2 separate regions of the Homo sapiens genome follow, and region 2 is linked to region 1. Evidence: promoter capture Hi-C in 16 types of primary human blood cells and fetal thymus (Javierre and others, 2016). All regions are on one chromosome and are shown on one strand. Each heading gives the region's core, a stretch centred on a gene start or on the middle of the fragment in contact. The rest is flanking DNA. Distances are from core to core; before and after follow the strand shown. Region 1 holds the start of TENT4B (terminal nucleotidyltransferase 4B). Region 2 holds the start of LOC101927272 (a long non-coding RNA gene).

Region 1 (7,315 bases), core at 3,192-5,691:
AGCCTCCAGAGTAGCTGGGACTACTTGTGTGCGCCACCACCCCGGCTACATTTTTTGTATTTTTAGTAGAGATGGGGTTTCACCATGTTGGTCAGGCTGGTCTCAAACTCCTGACCTCAAGTGATCCTCCTACCTCAGCCTCCCAAAGTGCTGGGATTACAGGTGTGAGCCACCGCGCCCAGCCAATAATGTTTAGTGTTTTGGGCTTTCCATTGTTCTTATTTGAATTAAAAAGAAAAATGTTTTCCTGACCTTATGTCTTGAGATTGAATTTAAAAATTTTATTATTATTACTATTATTATTATTATTTTTACAGGCAGGGTCTTGCTATATTGCCCAGACTGGTCTCAAACTCCAAGCCTCAAGCCACCTTCCGGCCTAAACCTCCCAAAGCACTGGGATTATAGGTGTAATCCACCATGCCTCTCCTGAATTTTTTTTTTTCAAGCAGGGTTTAAGAAAATATATTTAAATTTTTTAGTTTTATTTCCTTTTCTTCTCTTTTGAGACAAAAATCTCGCTGTGTTGCCCAGGCTGGTCTTGAACTTCTGGGCTCAAGTGATCTTCCTGCCTCAGCCTCCCAAAGTACTGGGATTACAGGCATGAGCCACTGCGCCTGGTCATTTTTATTTTTATTTTTAAGACAGGATCTCACTCAGGCTGGAGTGCAGTGTCACAAACATGGCTCACTGTAGCCTCGACCTCCTGTGCTCAAGCCATACTCCCACCTCAGCCTCCCGAGTAGTTGGGACCACAGGCACTCGCCACCAAGCACAGCTAATTTTATTTATTTATTTATTTATTTATTGAGACGGAGTCTAGCTCTGTCGCCCAGGCTGGAGTGCAGTGGCACGATCTCGGCTCACTGTAACCTCTGCCTCCCAAGTTCAAGTGATTCTCCCACCTCAGCCTCCTGAGTAACTGGCCTTAGAGATGTGGGCCACCATGCCCGGCTAATTTCTTTTTTTAAGTAGAGATGGAGTTTCACCATGTTGGCCAGGCTGGTCTCAAACTACTGACCTCAAGCGATCTGCCTGCCTCAGCCTCCCGAATTGCTGGGATTACAGGCGTGAGCCACCACACTTGGCCTGAAAGCATGGATCTTAAGTACCCAGCATCCTGAGAAGACAGAGTTTACAAAAGTATGTAAATCAAATGTATCTCTGATACTTTGCTGAAGAAAGCCTTTTACTTAACATACTTAGGATATTACTATGGTGTAACTGATGAATTAGCATCTGATAATAGTTTGGATATCTGTCTCCTCCAAATTTCATGTTGAATATTTTTTTCTTTTTTATTACCTTGATCCTACGTTAAAGGAAAAGGCCCAGCTCATTTTTAAATTTTTTGTAGAGACAGAGGTCTCACCATGTTGCCTAGGCTGTTCTCAAACTCCTGGCTTCAAGTAATCCTCTCACCTCAGTCTTCCAAAGTGCTGGGATTACAGGCATGAGCCACTGCATCCTGCTGAGAGAGAGAGAGAGATAGATATATATATATATAATTTTTTTTTTTTGAGACAGAGTCTCACTGTGTCACCTAGGCTGGAGTGCAATGACGCGATCTCGGCGCACCAAAACCTCTGCCTCCAAGGTTCAAATGATTCTCCTGCCTCAGCCTTCCAAGTAGCTGGGATTACAGGCATGTGCCACCACACCCGGCTAATTTTTTGTATTTTTAGTAGAGACGGGGTTTCACCACATTGGCCAGGCTGGTCTCGGGAACTCCTGAGCTCATGATCTGCCCGCGTCAGCCTCCCAAAATGTTGGGATTACAGGTGTGAGTCACCACGCCCGGCCAGAGATTCAATTTTTAAAACAAATATGAGGTCAGCAAACAAAATCTATTTCTATACAATGTTTTATTTTTGTCAGTGTAAATAACACAAAAAATACGGCTACTTATTTTCCTGGCTATGTAATAATTAGTACATAGCAAATTTCATTCAGGGAAAACTTTTTTTTTTTTTTTTTTTTGAGATGGAGTCTCGCTCTGTCACCCAGGCTGGAGTGCAATGGCGAGATCTCGGCTCACCACAACCTCCACCTCCTGGGTTCATGTGATTCTCCTGCCTCAACCTCCTAAGTAGCTGGGATTACAGGCATGCGCCACCACACCCGGCTAATTTTGTATTTTTAGTAGAGATGGGGTTTTTCCGTGTTGGTCAGGCTGGTCTCGAACTCCCGACCTCAGGTGATCTGCCTGCCTTGACTTCCCAAAACGCTGGGATTACAAGTGTGAGCAACCGCCCCCGGACAGAGAAAACTTTTAATACTGATTTCTAGTAAAGCAACAGCAACAATCAAATTGAATGAATCAAAATTCCGAAGGGTTTTTTTTGTTTGTTTTTGGTGGACAGGAAGTAGGATTTACTGGGGAGTATTAAGAGGGGGCAGCACAGTGGAAGCCCTCACGAGGGCAGGGCACGCCACTTGTCCAGAGGGCCATGATGGGGATGTACTTGACCCCACAGTCATCTGCGATGAGCCGCTTTTCAGCCACCATGTCTTCAAATTCATCCGCAGTGAACTTGGTGAAGCCCCACTTCTTTGAAATGTGGATCTTCTGGCAGCCAGGGAACTTGAACTTGGCCCTGAGCAGGGATTCAATCACATGCTCCTTATTCTGCAGCTTGTTGCAGATGGACATGATAACTTGGCCAATGTGAACCCTGGCCACAGTGCCCTGGAGCTTTTCAAAGGCACCTCGAATATCTGCCTGGAGCCTACATTGGCGTAGTGCAAGGTCAAAGACATGAACATACATCTGAAAGGCCTGTCTCCATGGTCCCTTAGAGCAGCCCATACAAGAAACAGGCTGCATAAACTACCAAGGAAGCTGTTGTTTGCAGCTGAAGGGTCTTTGTGTGTTTTCCGTATTTCTGGTCGTGCTATTTATTCTCTTACCAAAAAAAAAAAAAAAAGTAAGGTCAGGCGTGGTGGCTCACCCCCTTGTAATCCCAGCAGTTTTGGAGTCTGAGGTAGGAGGATCGCTTAAGTCCAGGAGTTCCAGACCAGCCTGGGCAGCGCAGAGCAACTTCGTCTCTATGCCATGTTGACGCGTGCCTATAGTCCTAGCTACTCGGAGGCTGGGGCAAGAGGATCGCTTGAACCCAAGAGGCCGAGCCTGCAGTGAGCTGTGAATGAGTCACTGAACTCCAGATGACAGAGCAAGAGTTAGTCTCGAAAGAAAGAAAAAGGTAGAGCGACACTTAGTTCTTTGATAGTTTTCCACTATTTGTCATAAAAACTTTCCAGGATATTGAGCTCCCAAAATGGAAGGCCAATATCAGGCATCAGGGACTTGTTCTGGACGTTGGACCAACCTTAAAGGGCCCACATAGAAGCTGTTCACTTACTTTCTTTTAGTCTCTTGATTTAAAATACTTAACATTCCCCTTTCCTTGGCTTTTTAACCACTGAGATTTGAAAGACATGCAAATAACGACCTAGTGGACAATCTTTGCTGATGCTAAATCTTCATTTTAGGATTAAAAGGTTTTGGGTTTTCTTAAAATTTAATGCTGAACTCAGAAGAGCTTTCTAAGGCTGTTGGTGCACCTTAGGGCAGGAGAGCGTCTTTGCTACGCCGCGCAGGAGTGTGTCTGCTTCTCTGTGCATCTACACGTGTTTGCGTGTCCCTGTAAAGTGGGTTGAGTGTGCGGCTGCGGCTTTCCGCCCTTGGCTCACACTCTCAGTCTTAGTGGTCTCCCCCAGGGCTATGCATGGGGTACAGGTTTCTGTGGCCTCAGGCCGGGGTGAGGGGTCCCCCACCCCGGCCAGGGCGCAGCAGGGCGGGGCACACGTAGCCGTGCAGGGTCTCGCGCAGCCCGCGTCAGGACCCCGGGGCACACGCTCGGGCAGGGGGCGTGTCCCCACGCCACCAGAAAAAGTGTTATAGGCTGTTTTTTTTTTTTTTTTTTTTTTTAAAAAGAAAGTGTTTTAGAAAGCAGGCAGAAGCCAAGACGTCAGGAAGGGTTGCGAGGGCCCGGGATCCGGCGGCCACAGGGATGGGAGGGGCGAGGAGCGAGGGGCGGAGTGGCACCTCCCACAACGCGCTCCCTGCGGGGCGGGCGGCAACCTCCATGCGGCCTCGTCCACGCTCAGCACCGGGGAAGCCGAGGCGGAGAAGCCGCGCGCGCCTCAGAAGCTCCCGGACGCCCAGGTACGTGGGAGCACTCCACAGATGGCGCAAGTACGGTTGGGCCAGGCGGTTGCGGCCCCGTCGCGCCGCGGCCTCTGTGACGCACGGCGAGGCCTCCCGGGCTGCTGCGCGGCGCAGCGGGGGCGGGGCGAGCGCGTGAGGGCGGGGCGGTGGGGGGGGGGGGCGGAGCGAGAGGGGCGGAGCCGGCAGAGGCCCCGCCCCGGGGCCGGAGGAGCGAGGACGCTACGGAGCAGGCGCGTCTCGCTGCCGCCGCTGCCGCCGCCGCCGCTCGCTCTTCTGTGGAGCCGCCGCCGCCGCCGCCGCCATTTGCACGGGGACCCCAGTGACAGGGGCTCGGCGGAGGGGCGGAGGGGCGGAGGGAGGGGGGGAGGGCCCGCGGAGCCCCCGAGGGCGGGAGCGACGCCGCCGGCGCCGGCCGGGCTCCCTGCGCGACCGCGCCGCCCGCGGCGGGCCCCGAGCAGCAGCAGCAGCAGCAGCGGCAGCAGCGGCAGCAGCAGCAGCAGCCGAGGCCGGGCGTGCGCCTGAGGCGGCGGCGGCGGCGGCCCTGCGGGCGGCCGGGAGGGGCGGGGGCAGCGGCCGCCGCCGTTTGATGGATCCGAGGATCGCCTGGTTTCAGCCAGAGCAGCTCGGACCGTCCAACAGTCTGTGGATGCAGATCTGGGAGACGACCCAGGGGCTGAGGAACCTCTACTTCAACCACCACTGTCACAGCAGCGGCGGCGCGAGCGGCGGCGGCGGCAGCAGCAGCAGCAGCAGCACGGCCACCGGCGGGAGCGGCAGCAGCACCGGCAGCCCCGGCGGCGCGGCCTCGGCCCCGGCCCCGGCCCCGGCCGGCATGTATCGCTCCGGGGAGCGCCTGCTGGGCAGCCACGCGCTGCCCGCGGAGCAGCGGGACTTCCTGCCCCTAGAGACGACCAACAACAACAACAACCACCACCAGCCCGGGGCCTGGGCCCGCCGGGCGGGCTCCTCGGCGTCCTCGCCTCCCTCGGCGTCCTCGTCCCCGCACCCTTCGGCCGCCGTCCCCGCCGCCGATCCAGCCGATTCGGCCTCGGGCAGCAGCAACAAGAGGAAGCGCGACAACAAGGCCAGCACGTATGGACTCAACTACAGCCTGCTGCAGCCCAGCGGAGGGCGGGCCGCGGGGGGCGGCCGAGCAGACGGCGGCGGGGTCGTGTACAGCGGGACCCCGTGGAAACGGAGGAACTACAACCAGGGAGTCGTGGGGTGAGTGCTGGCTCTGCGGCCCGATGGCCTGGCCGGTGCGAATGCGCAGCCGGGCACACGCCCACAGAGGGGGGTTGTGAGGGTCTAGGAGCGGCCACCCCCACGGCCTGCCTTCGCTGCTGTTGCACGGGGGTGCTGCTGGCCATCCCCAACCCCCCAGTCGTTCACACCTTTCCCCAAGCCTCCTTAGCCGTCCACACCCTCCGTCTCCTGTCCTCCCTTAGTCGTCCACACCTTCCTCCCCTCCCTCTTAACCGTCCACACCTTCCCCAGGCCCCCCCCTTTATCCATTCACTCTCCTCCCATCCCCCTTAGTTAAACACATCTACCCTTGACCACCACCCCGCCTCCAGCCCTCCACACCTTTTTCCCCATCATCACAACTCAAGATGAGACCGCTTAGCACGGGCCTATCATTCATTCCCTGAGAACATTGGTGTGTGAGTGTTTTTTGATGGTGCAGGACCCGGAGGTGCTTTCCTTGCCAAGAATAGAAACATCCAGAATGCTCCTCCCCATCCCCCAATCCCAGACAGCAATTATGTCAGCCCTGTAAGGCATTGCCTGCTCTTGACCCTTTGGCCCATCTTTTTATTTTTAAAAAATTCCCATGTCACAGATGCCCTGTCTATGCAGAGGGTGGCGTGGGATGGGTGACCACTAAGTTTAGGCTGGTGAAGGTGGTGAGCCCTTCTGAGGCCCTGATAGAACTTTCCAGGAGTTCATGGTCCGCGGCTCCAGCTTCTCACTGTAAAGTTGTCATCCTGGCAGAGGCAGCCAATGCTTTTCATTCTAGGGGGTAGAGATTTATGCTAATGAGTGAATATTGCACCACTAGTGACTTTCTGTTTAAAGTTCAGCTCTTAGAAAATGGAATCTTACCTGACCCCTAGTGAATTATGTACATAAGCAGGGAATGTTTCCAACTAGATCTCCCTTCAGAAGAGTCCCTGTGCTGGAATAGGTCACTGAATCTTATTTGTTTTGTAAAACAAAGCTTTTGGGTCTCGTGGGTGTGTGTGTGTGTGTGTGTGTGTGTGTGTGTGTGTGTGTAGCTTGAGTATGGAGAACCGGCTTTCAAATTGCTTTTCATTTTTCAGGTTGTGTTTTACATTGAGGGCTTTAGCATGCAAATGAAATTACCAATTAGTAATCCCATGTGAACCTTTTCCTGGATTTATTCATTCAGATCTGCCCTGCTTTGGCTGAGAGAGAGAGTTCTGTGTACCTTTTTGAAGGTCTGGATAAAATGAGTTGGTGGGTTCCATCTGCTTCCAGTGGGCTGGTGTCTGCTCTATGCTACTATTACAACTCCTACCTTTTGTGGAAAATGCAGTCAAGCGTTCTAGGACTGGTGCTGTGGTACATGTCAAACCTGCCCTCACATTCCAGAAAGGGAACCCTTTTAGGGTTGAGTCCTCTGTTGCTAAGCTTCAAGGGTGCTCTCCATGGTCATCACGTTTTATTAAAGGCTTGTGGTTCCATCCTGTTAGCATTTCCAAGTCTACGCGTAAACCTGTGGTTTAGTGACAAGCAAATTGATGTTGAGGGTTTCTGGTAGTTTCATTTCACAGGAGTAAGCTCCAGTTAGGTAATCACTGTCAACGAAAACCTTGAAGTTCCTTAATTGCATTTTACTGAAGCCTCTTTGCATGTGTCTAGCAAAAGATATAAGTCCAAGATGCTTATTTTTTTTTTGATAAATTAGAAATTGTCCTCTCCTCTACTTGCTATTTAATGCAGAAGATACTCTAAAAGGTTCATATTTATACTTAGAAGCAAGATGTTCTTGTTCCTGATTCAAATATATTGCCCTCAAAGGGATTAGGAGAGGAATTTTCATTTCCCGGAGGGATTACTGTTTAAAAACTGGTTGTAAACCTCTTTAAAAACTGCTTATCACTTCACCAGATTTTCCAT
Region 2 (7,315 bases), core at 1-2,500, 520 kb after region 1:
GCCCAAGAGAGGCCTGCTGGGGATGTGTTGGGAGCCAACCTACCCCTACCAGCAGGTGGAACTGGTTTTGCCACTCCAAAACAGAGTTCCAGCTATGGGGACAGCCACTAGAGAGCAGAGCTAAGGGCATTCTAGGCCAAGGGGTCACAGTCCACCCTGAACTGTGCCTCCCAGCCTGAAGCCAGAAAGCTCAGGGAGGCTAGCGGCCCTGCCCAGGCCTCAGCACTGACCCTGCACCCCTAGGCCCAGCTGGATGACCCCTAAGAGCTTCCTGGAATTTGGATGCAGGGTTATTCTGTGTGTGCTGCCTCTCAGAGCATGTCACTTTGACGTGGACATCTCGGGTCTGGTTCTGGTGCTGTCCCTGTCTCGCCACGTGACCCTGGATAAGTCATCTCTCCAGGCCTTGATTTCCCCATCTGTAAACAGAGGTGAGTGAAATGATCTTTAAAGGCGTGTCAGTCCATTTTGCATTGCTATAAAGGAATACCTGAGGTTGGGTAGCTTATAAAGAAAAGAGGGTTATTTGGCTCACAGTTGTGCAGGTTGTACAGAAGCATGGCACCAGCATTGCTTCTTGTGAAGCTTCAGGAAGCTTCCACTTATGGTGGAAGGGGAAGGGGGAGTTCGTGACTTACATGGCAAGAGAGGGAGCAAGAGCCATGTCAGGCTCTTCTAAACAACCAGCTCTCATGTAAACTAACAGAGTGAGAACTCATTCATTACCACGGGGAGGGCACCAAGCCATCCATGAGGGACCTGCCCCCATGAGCCAAACATCTCCCACCAGGCCACACCTTCAACACTGGGAGTCACATTCAGCATGAGATTTGGAGGTGACCACCATGCATCCAAACCATATCAAGGACCCATTTCGGTGAGGGGACCAGGAACATATCCCTTCCCCTCTCCTCCACATCCTTTAATGTGGAGTTCAGCAAGGAAAGTAGGGCTTGGGTCAAATTAAAGCCTGGTCTTAATTTCCTGGTCCAGTTATTAGCTGTGTAACCCTGGGCAAGTCACTTAACCCCCTCAGGTTACAATGTTACAAATGATCACATTTTCCTCAACTGAAAAATGGGATAGGAACATGTCCCAAGCAGAGCTGGAGTGACGGTGCTATCAATGGCCCGGCAGTGCCTGGTCACACAGTAGGCCTGGGGAGCCCTGACTTTTACCGCACAGGGAGCTGCTTGCAGAGCTTGTTTTCAATTGTGGGCTTGGCAGGGAACTGCCGGCATCCCAGGGGACAGGGTCTCATGAGGATGCCTAATCCCAGCTCAAAGTGGAGACCCCAGGACTCCATCACAGCCAGTGGGGGGGAGTGGCTGCTGCAGCAGGGAGGGCTTCATTGGAATGAACCCCTTTAAGCTCCAGTCCAAATGCCCAGAGTGGTTTTGCAGGTATGGTTGTGAGGCTGGCATGGTAGTCCCATCTGCAGTCCCCTGGGATGAGGCACCTGTATGGTAGAGGGCCCGGGTGGAGAGAAGAGAAGGATGGGGATGAACCCAGGACCACAGATGGCCCAGTTCCATGGATGATTTTCATTGAGGTGCCTTCAAGTCAGTTCAACACTGGGCTTCTCAACCTTTGAGGTATGCAGGTAAGAGTCACCTGCGGCAGTGGGGGATGCTCTTGTTAAAGTGCAGACTCCGATTAAGCAGGTCTAGGGTGGGGCCTGAAATTCTGTGTTCCTAACAAGGCTCCATCCTGGGTATGGAGGTCAGGTACCCCCTCACCTCTCCTGTGGACCCAGCTTTTGAGGGGTCAGGAGAAGAATGTTCAGTCCCAGCTGCCACCACTCTAAAGTCCCCTAGAAACAAGGACTAATACAGGTGGCGTGGGAGAGGGCCCAGGCAAACAGGGAGGTGGGGTACCCCGGTGGGGCTGCAGTGGGCCCTGCGGAAAGCTTGCTGGAGGTGGGGGCCTAAGGAATTCAAGGACTTGTTCCAGGAACCCAAGGAACGAGTGGGCTCTAACTGCTGCAGCATATGGGAGATGCCAGGAGGAGCTGGCTGTGGCAGGCCATCCCAGTCCATCAGACAACTTGTAGTGGATGAAGATGCAGTGTCCATGGCCAGAAGAAACTCCCGTGGATGCTCAGGCCAAGGCTGCCAGAAGCACGAGGAGGGGCAGCATTGAGTGTCATCGGGAAAAGGCAAAGTGATGGTCCTGAAGCTGCCCCATGTGGCCAGTCCCTTTTTGGGAAGCCTGAATAAATCCATTTCCTGTGCACTGTGTGGGAAGCCAACCCCTCTTCAGAGGTACTTATGGGGAACCCCCCATGTGATTCTATAGGCTCCTTTACTCCCATATAAGTATTTTCTCTCTGTGTGCACCCCCCGCCCCACCCCCCCAACACCCCACACATATCATCTATCTGTGATTTTGAGATGACTTTTTTTTTTCACATTTCAGCACCTCTGAACTCAACAGGATCCTACACTTCTTATAGGCCTGGCTTGATGCTGACATCCTTCAGCCCCAGGGAAGACCTAAAGATCTCCAGGTCTTGAGGCACCTGGAACACCTCCACCTGAGACCACTTTAACATGATTTCTCTGCTTGAGGGATTTTGGACCATGCTGTGTGTATTCAGCCCTAAAACATGGGCGAGTGCCCGCTTGCAGTTCAAATTCTCAGAGGAAGTTCCCTGTACTCCACCCAGTGCCAAGTTTAGTTTGTGCAAATTTCCTTAATGTCCCCTCCTGTACAACAGGCTTATTTGGTGTTAACCCTCATATCGGGGGTCTAACTCTTTGCTTTTCCAGCTTTTGTGCTGGAATATCCCATTAAACTGTCCATGTTGGGTATTTTTTCTTTGTTAGTAAACATTTGTTGCATATTGTTGATAGCATTTTAGATTTGAAGAAATAACTGACAAAATCAATATCATCTGTTTCATCATTACAAATAGACTCATAGCTCTTTAATTTTTCCATTTAACACTTTAATTTTCCATAGGCCTAGATTTTCAAGAAGTCCAATATCTCTCACTTGAAGTGTCTTTTCCCTGGAGTAGATTGGGAGATTTGAGGGATATCTGTCCAAAGATGAGACAGTCTGTTTCTAGTTTCCCATCCAGCCTGATGGGGCGTCTACAGTTTTTACCACAAGGTGTCGCTGTTGAACAGATTCTGGTGCAGTCTAGTGCATAGCTGTCCACTTCTAGAGTGATCACTTGCTGGGCCAAGTTCCTCTCCTTAAGTGGTGTCTCACATTAAGGTTCCCAAATTACAGACTCATTAATTCACCCTAATAAGCTCATCCAGGCAGTTTAGGTCTTCAGGGGCTTCCAGCCTCCAACACACATTGGGCCAAAACCAGCCTGTACCACCAGCTCCAAGCCCTGTGTTGAATCTAGGTCATTGGTCCAGATGCCCCTTCATTCTGGGCCTGTGGTGTCCTTTCCAGACAGCAGACCTCAGTTAAGGGCATCCCAGTCCATCAGAGAAGTTCCAGGATCACAGACCCTCAAAAGGGGCAGTGTTGAGGATTCAGTCTGTTTTCTGCCCAGAGGCCCCATTAAGTATGTTGTATCACCTCCTCCCCAGGCTGTTTCTACATAACCCAGGGAAGCCATTCAGGGAACAGCTGCCTTATGAATGAAAATCCACCCCTAGACAATGTGCTATGCCATCCCAGCCAGAAAAATTGTTGGCAACTTCCCTTGCCAAAAATGCCTGGTATCACAGAATCTTATGCCATTATTGCTTTCTGGTCCAGGGTCCTCCCACCCTTCAAAAGGATGGCATACAACTCCCACCGTGTGTGTGTGTGTGTGTGTGTGTGTGTGTGTGTGTGTGTGTGTAGAGGCTGTTCTTGAGGGCAATAGGTGAGCTTTTGTTTTGCTTTGTCAGGTCTACATGGTAAGGGGGAAGGGCTAGAATACTAAGATAGTATTAGGATAATGGATGGAAATATTTTAAAGCAATTCCAAGGTGGAAGGAACAGAGAGAAAAGCCTTGGAGCAGCTGGAGAGAACTGTCTTCAAGGAAATGGACTAAGTTTTGTCTAGAATGTGTGAGGTAAACTTCTTCTCCAGCTTCCCACAAAGACACTGGTGGGGTGGACACTGCTCTGGACGGTTTTGGCAGTTGGTTTTGTGTTTTGGAGATGAAGTGGCCCTGGCATCAAGAGGACGTGGGACACAAGCAGAGGCTTCCAAGGGGTCCCAGGAGCACCTCTGTCCAATACAGATGGAGAAATTGAGGACCAGAGGAGGGGCTTGTCCAAAGTCACCCAGCGAGTTAGAGCCCCCAGTGGCTTTTCCCATTAAAAATGAACCCCAGGCCAGGGGTGGTGGCTCACACTTGTAACCCCAGTGTTTTGGGAAGCTGAGGCAGGAAGATCATTTAAGGTCAGAAGTTAGAGACCAGCCTGGGCAACAGAGAGACCCTGTCTCTACTAAAAAATTAAAAATTAGCCTGGTGTGGTGGTGTGCACCTGTAATCCCAGCTACTTGGGAGGCTGAGGTGGGAGGATTGCTTGTGCCCAGGAGTTTGAGGCTGCAGTGAGACATAATTGAGCCACTGCACTTCAGTCTGGGTGACAGAGCAAGACTGTCTCAAATAACAAAAAAGAAAAGGAAAAATAAAAAAAAAGAACCCCAAACAGCCCACTGTGAGCCATGGTGACCCCAAATCTCCAGCGTCCCTGCGGGGTCCCAGGCCGGCTCAGTGCAGGTATTCTCGCACAGTGAGCTCCTTCAGGGTGATGCCTCGGGGCGTGGGCCTCCGGAGCTGGCTCTCCTCCAGCCTCTCCTGCAGAGTCACGAAGTCCTTGCCCAGCGCGTAGGCCAGGCGGACCATGGCGTCCAGCAGAGGCGCATAGTAGCGATGGCCCTCCCGGGCCTGCAGGCGCTGCAGGGCCCTCTCTCCGGCCGCGAAGGCCTCGGCGGGGCGGTCGAGGTCGCGGTGGCACAGCAGCACGGCGCACAGGGCCGGGACGGCGGCCGCAGGGCAGTGGGCGGTGAGCTTCTCCTGCAGCGGCAGCACGCGCAGCAGCAGCTCCAGGGCGCGCGGGTACTGGCCGGCCCGCAGGCAGCCGAAAGCCTCGCGCAGCTCCGGCCGCGTGAGGAAGTCCAGGAACTCCCGGGAGCGGCGCACGCAGCGGATGGCGTAGAGCAGGCCCAGGTACTCCTGCAGGGCGCGCCGACGCTCACAGATCATCTCCTCAGCGAAGTTCCCAGTCAGGTGCTTCCTGGGAAACTCCACGTCTTCGATCTCCTCCCTGAACGTCTTCAGCAGCGCTTTCTGGAGCTTCGCGAAGTCGGAATAGCGCCGTTCCAGGACGGCCTTGTTGTTGTCAAAGCTCCCAGTCTGGATGACGATGATTTGGTACACCTAGGGCGCAACCAGAGAGAGCTGTGGCCACCTCCCGGCGGGGGCTGCGGCGGACGGAGCACACCCAGAGTAAAGTTAACCAGGCCGGTGTAAAGCATGCCCTGAAAACGGGCGATCCTTATATGCAATTGTTTGTTTGTTTGTTTGTTTGTTTGTTTATTTATTTATTTATTTATTTATTTATTTATTTTTAGAGACAGGGTCTCGCACTGTTACCCAGGCTGGAGTACAGTGATGCGATCATACCTCACTGCAACCTTGAACTTATGGGCTCAATTGACCTGCCCACCTGAGCCTCCTGAGTAGCTGGGACTACAGGCACACCCACTACCTGGCAGATTTTTTGATTTTTTTTAAAAGATGGGGTCTGGCTGTGTTGCCCAGGCTGGTCTCCAACTCCTGGGCTCAAGCGATCCTCCTACCTGGGCCTCCCAAAGTGCTGGGATTACAGGCATGAGCCACTGCACCTGGCCCAATTCTGTTTTAAATTGCTATTGGCATCAGCTGAGTCAACCCTGGAACAACAACACAGCAAGGTGGGGACATCTGGGAGGAGAAAGGGCAGAGGGTCCTGCCCTGCAGGCTGCTGGGGTCCCTCTTGGCTTTACTTGCTAAAACTGGGCCTCTGTTTTCTGAACTGAGATGCTGTGTTTTCCAAATGTTTCACACTTGGGAATTAGTTTTACGTACAATATAACATCATTTAGGTACACTGGTGATGCCGTTATATGGTAAGAAAATCAATCCTTTTCAATCATCTTTCAAGAGAATCCTGATTACGGGCAATTATATATTAAGGGCAATTATAACCCATGCATCTGACTCCAGAGCCAGATTGCATGGGTTGTAATTATAGCCCTACCATGGTCTAGCTGTGTGGTTTTAGATGAGTAATTTAACCTCTCCGAGTCTCACTTTTCTCATTCATAAAACAAGGATAGGCATAGTGCCTACCTCACCCAGTGAGGATTAAATGAGTTAATGCACTGAAACCACATGGAGCTGTGCCCGGCATGCCATTGGCATTCAGTGGTAGCTATGTTATTTATCCCGGTCCCAGGTAAGTGAAGGAGAAGGATGAAGTGTGGCTCTTAGGCAGTCTTTAACATCCCTTAACACAAGCTAAAATTCCATTCTAACAGGGAGAGGAGCAGCTCCCAGGCACAGGGCTTTCCCGAAGCCACAGTAACCAGCTAGAATTTAATAACAGCACATAGCTTTCCTTGTATTGACTTTCCTTGTATCGACTTTTCTAGTATGTTACTTTTGCTTTGTGCCATGTGATATTGGTTTTCCATTTAAGGTATTTCTCTTTGAAATAAATGTGCTTCATGTTTTTAAAAAGTGATCCAATTTAAAGAAAAAAATAAGTAATAATAATTAGAACAGATACAGTGATATGGCAAAATTGGTGAAGAAAGGACACAGGTGACTGACACCTGATAAGATGGGATTAAACTGGGCTATTTCCTTCTTGGGACCAAGAAATATGACTTATATGGTTCGAATCCTCACAGACCCTAGCAGGTGCTGAGCCTGAAATCTTGCTCTTTGGCCATTTTCTCCAGAAGAAAGCTGTGAGTTAGTGTGTTGACCCATTTCATAGTTGGGAAACCTGAGGCTCTACAAGACTTATTCAGGGCCAGGAAGGAAGCAGAGTGAAAGAGGCTCCACCATTTCCCAATCTCTGCTTACCACAAACTTAGAGACTTTTCTCTCCTCGATGCGAGCTGAAGCGATCTCAAAGAGCAGTTTGACGTGCTTCCAGCGGCATTTCTGGTTCTGCCAGTACTGCTGAAGCTCCCGCGTGGTCATGCTGGAGTTGGAGCTCAGGCCACTGTGTGTGTCTGGAAGGACAACACCCTTAAGGATCTGCACCCTGTCAGTGCACTTCCGAGGCATGGGCTTGGGGAGATGGCTGGGTCTATCTGAGATGGCATATCAGAACTCCTGAAGAGTATTGAATATCC

The links. The method cuts DNA at HindIII sites, captures the fragments that hold promoters and counts their contacts. A CHiCAGO score of 5 or more calls a contact.
Region 2: a fragment that was not itself captured here is called in contact with the fragment with the promoter of TENT4B in region 1 in 13 of 17 cell types (total CD8 T cells, naive CD4 T cells, activated CD4 T cells and 10 more); the score reaches 16.7 in total CD8 T cells.

The regions. Positions count from the first base shown.
Region 1 is chr16:50,148,865-50,156,179 of GRCh38, forward strand. TENT4B (terminal nucleotidyltransferase 4B) reads left to right here and starts at 4,442. Exons shown (of 12, transcript NM_001365324.3): 1 at 4,442-5,395. The coding sequence starts at 4,758. It also overlaps the pseudogene RPL10P14 and the pseudogene LOC124900375. RefSeq lists enhancers at 3,498-4,455, 6,093-6,142, 7,002-7,061 and silencers at 3,682-3,771, 3,992-4,161, 4,272-4,431, 4,662-4,761, 4,942-4,991 and 1 more. The HindIII fragment of the contact is 13,709 bases long and covers 1-6,390 here.
Region 2 is chr16:50,668,730-50,676,044 of GRCh38, forward strand. LOC101927272 (a long non-coding RNA gene) reads left to right here and starts at 126. Exons shown (of 3, transcript NR_110908.1): 1 at 126-431; 2 at 1,954-2,264; 3 at 2,419-2,910. SNX20 (sorting nexin 20) reads right to left here. Exons shown (of 4, transcript NM_182854.4): 3 at 7,041-7,192; 4 at 2,900-5,345. The coding sequence ends at 4,677. The HindIII fragment of the contact is 1,314 bases long and covers 594-1,907 here.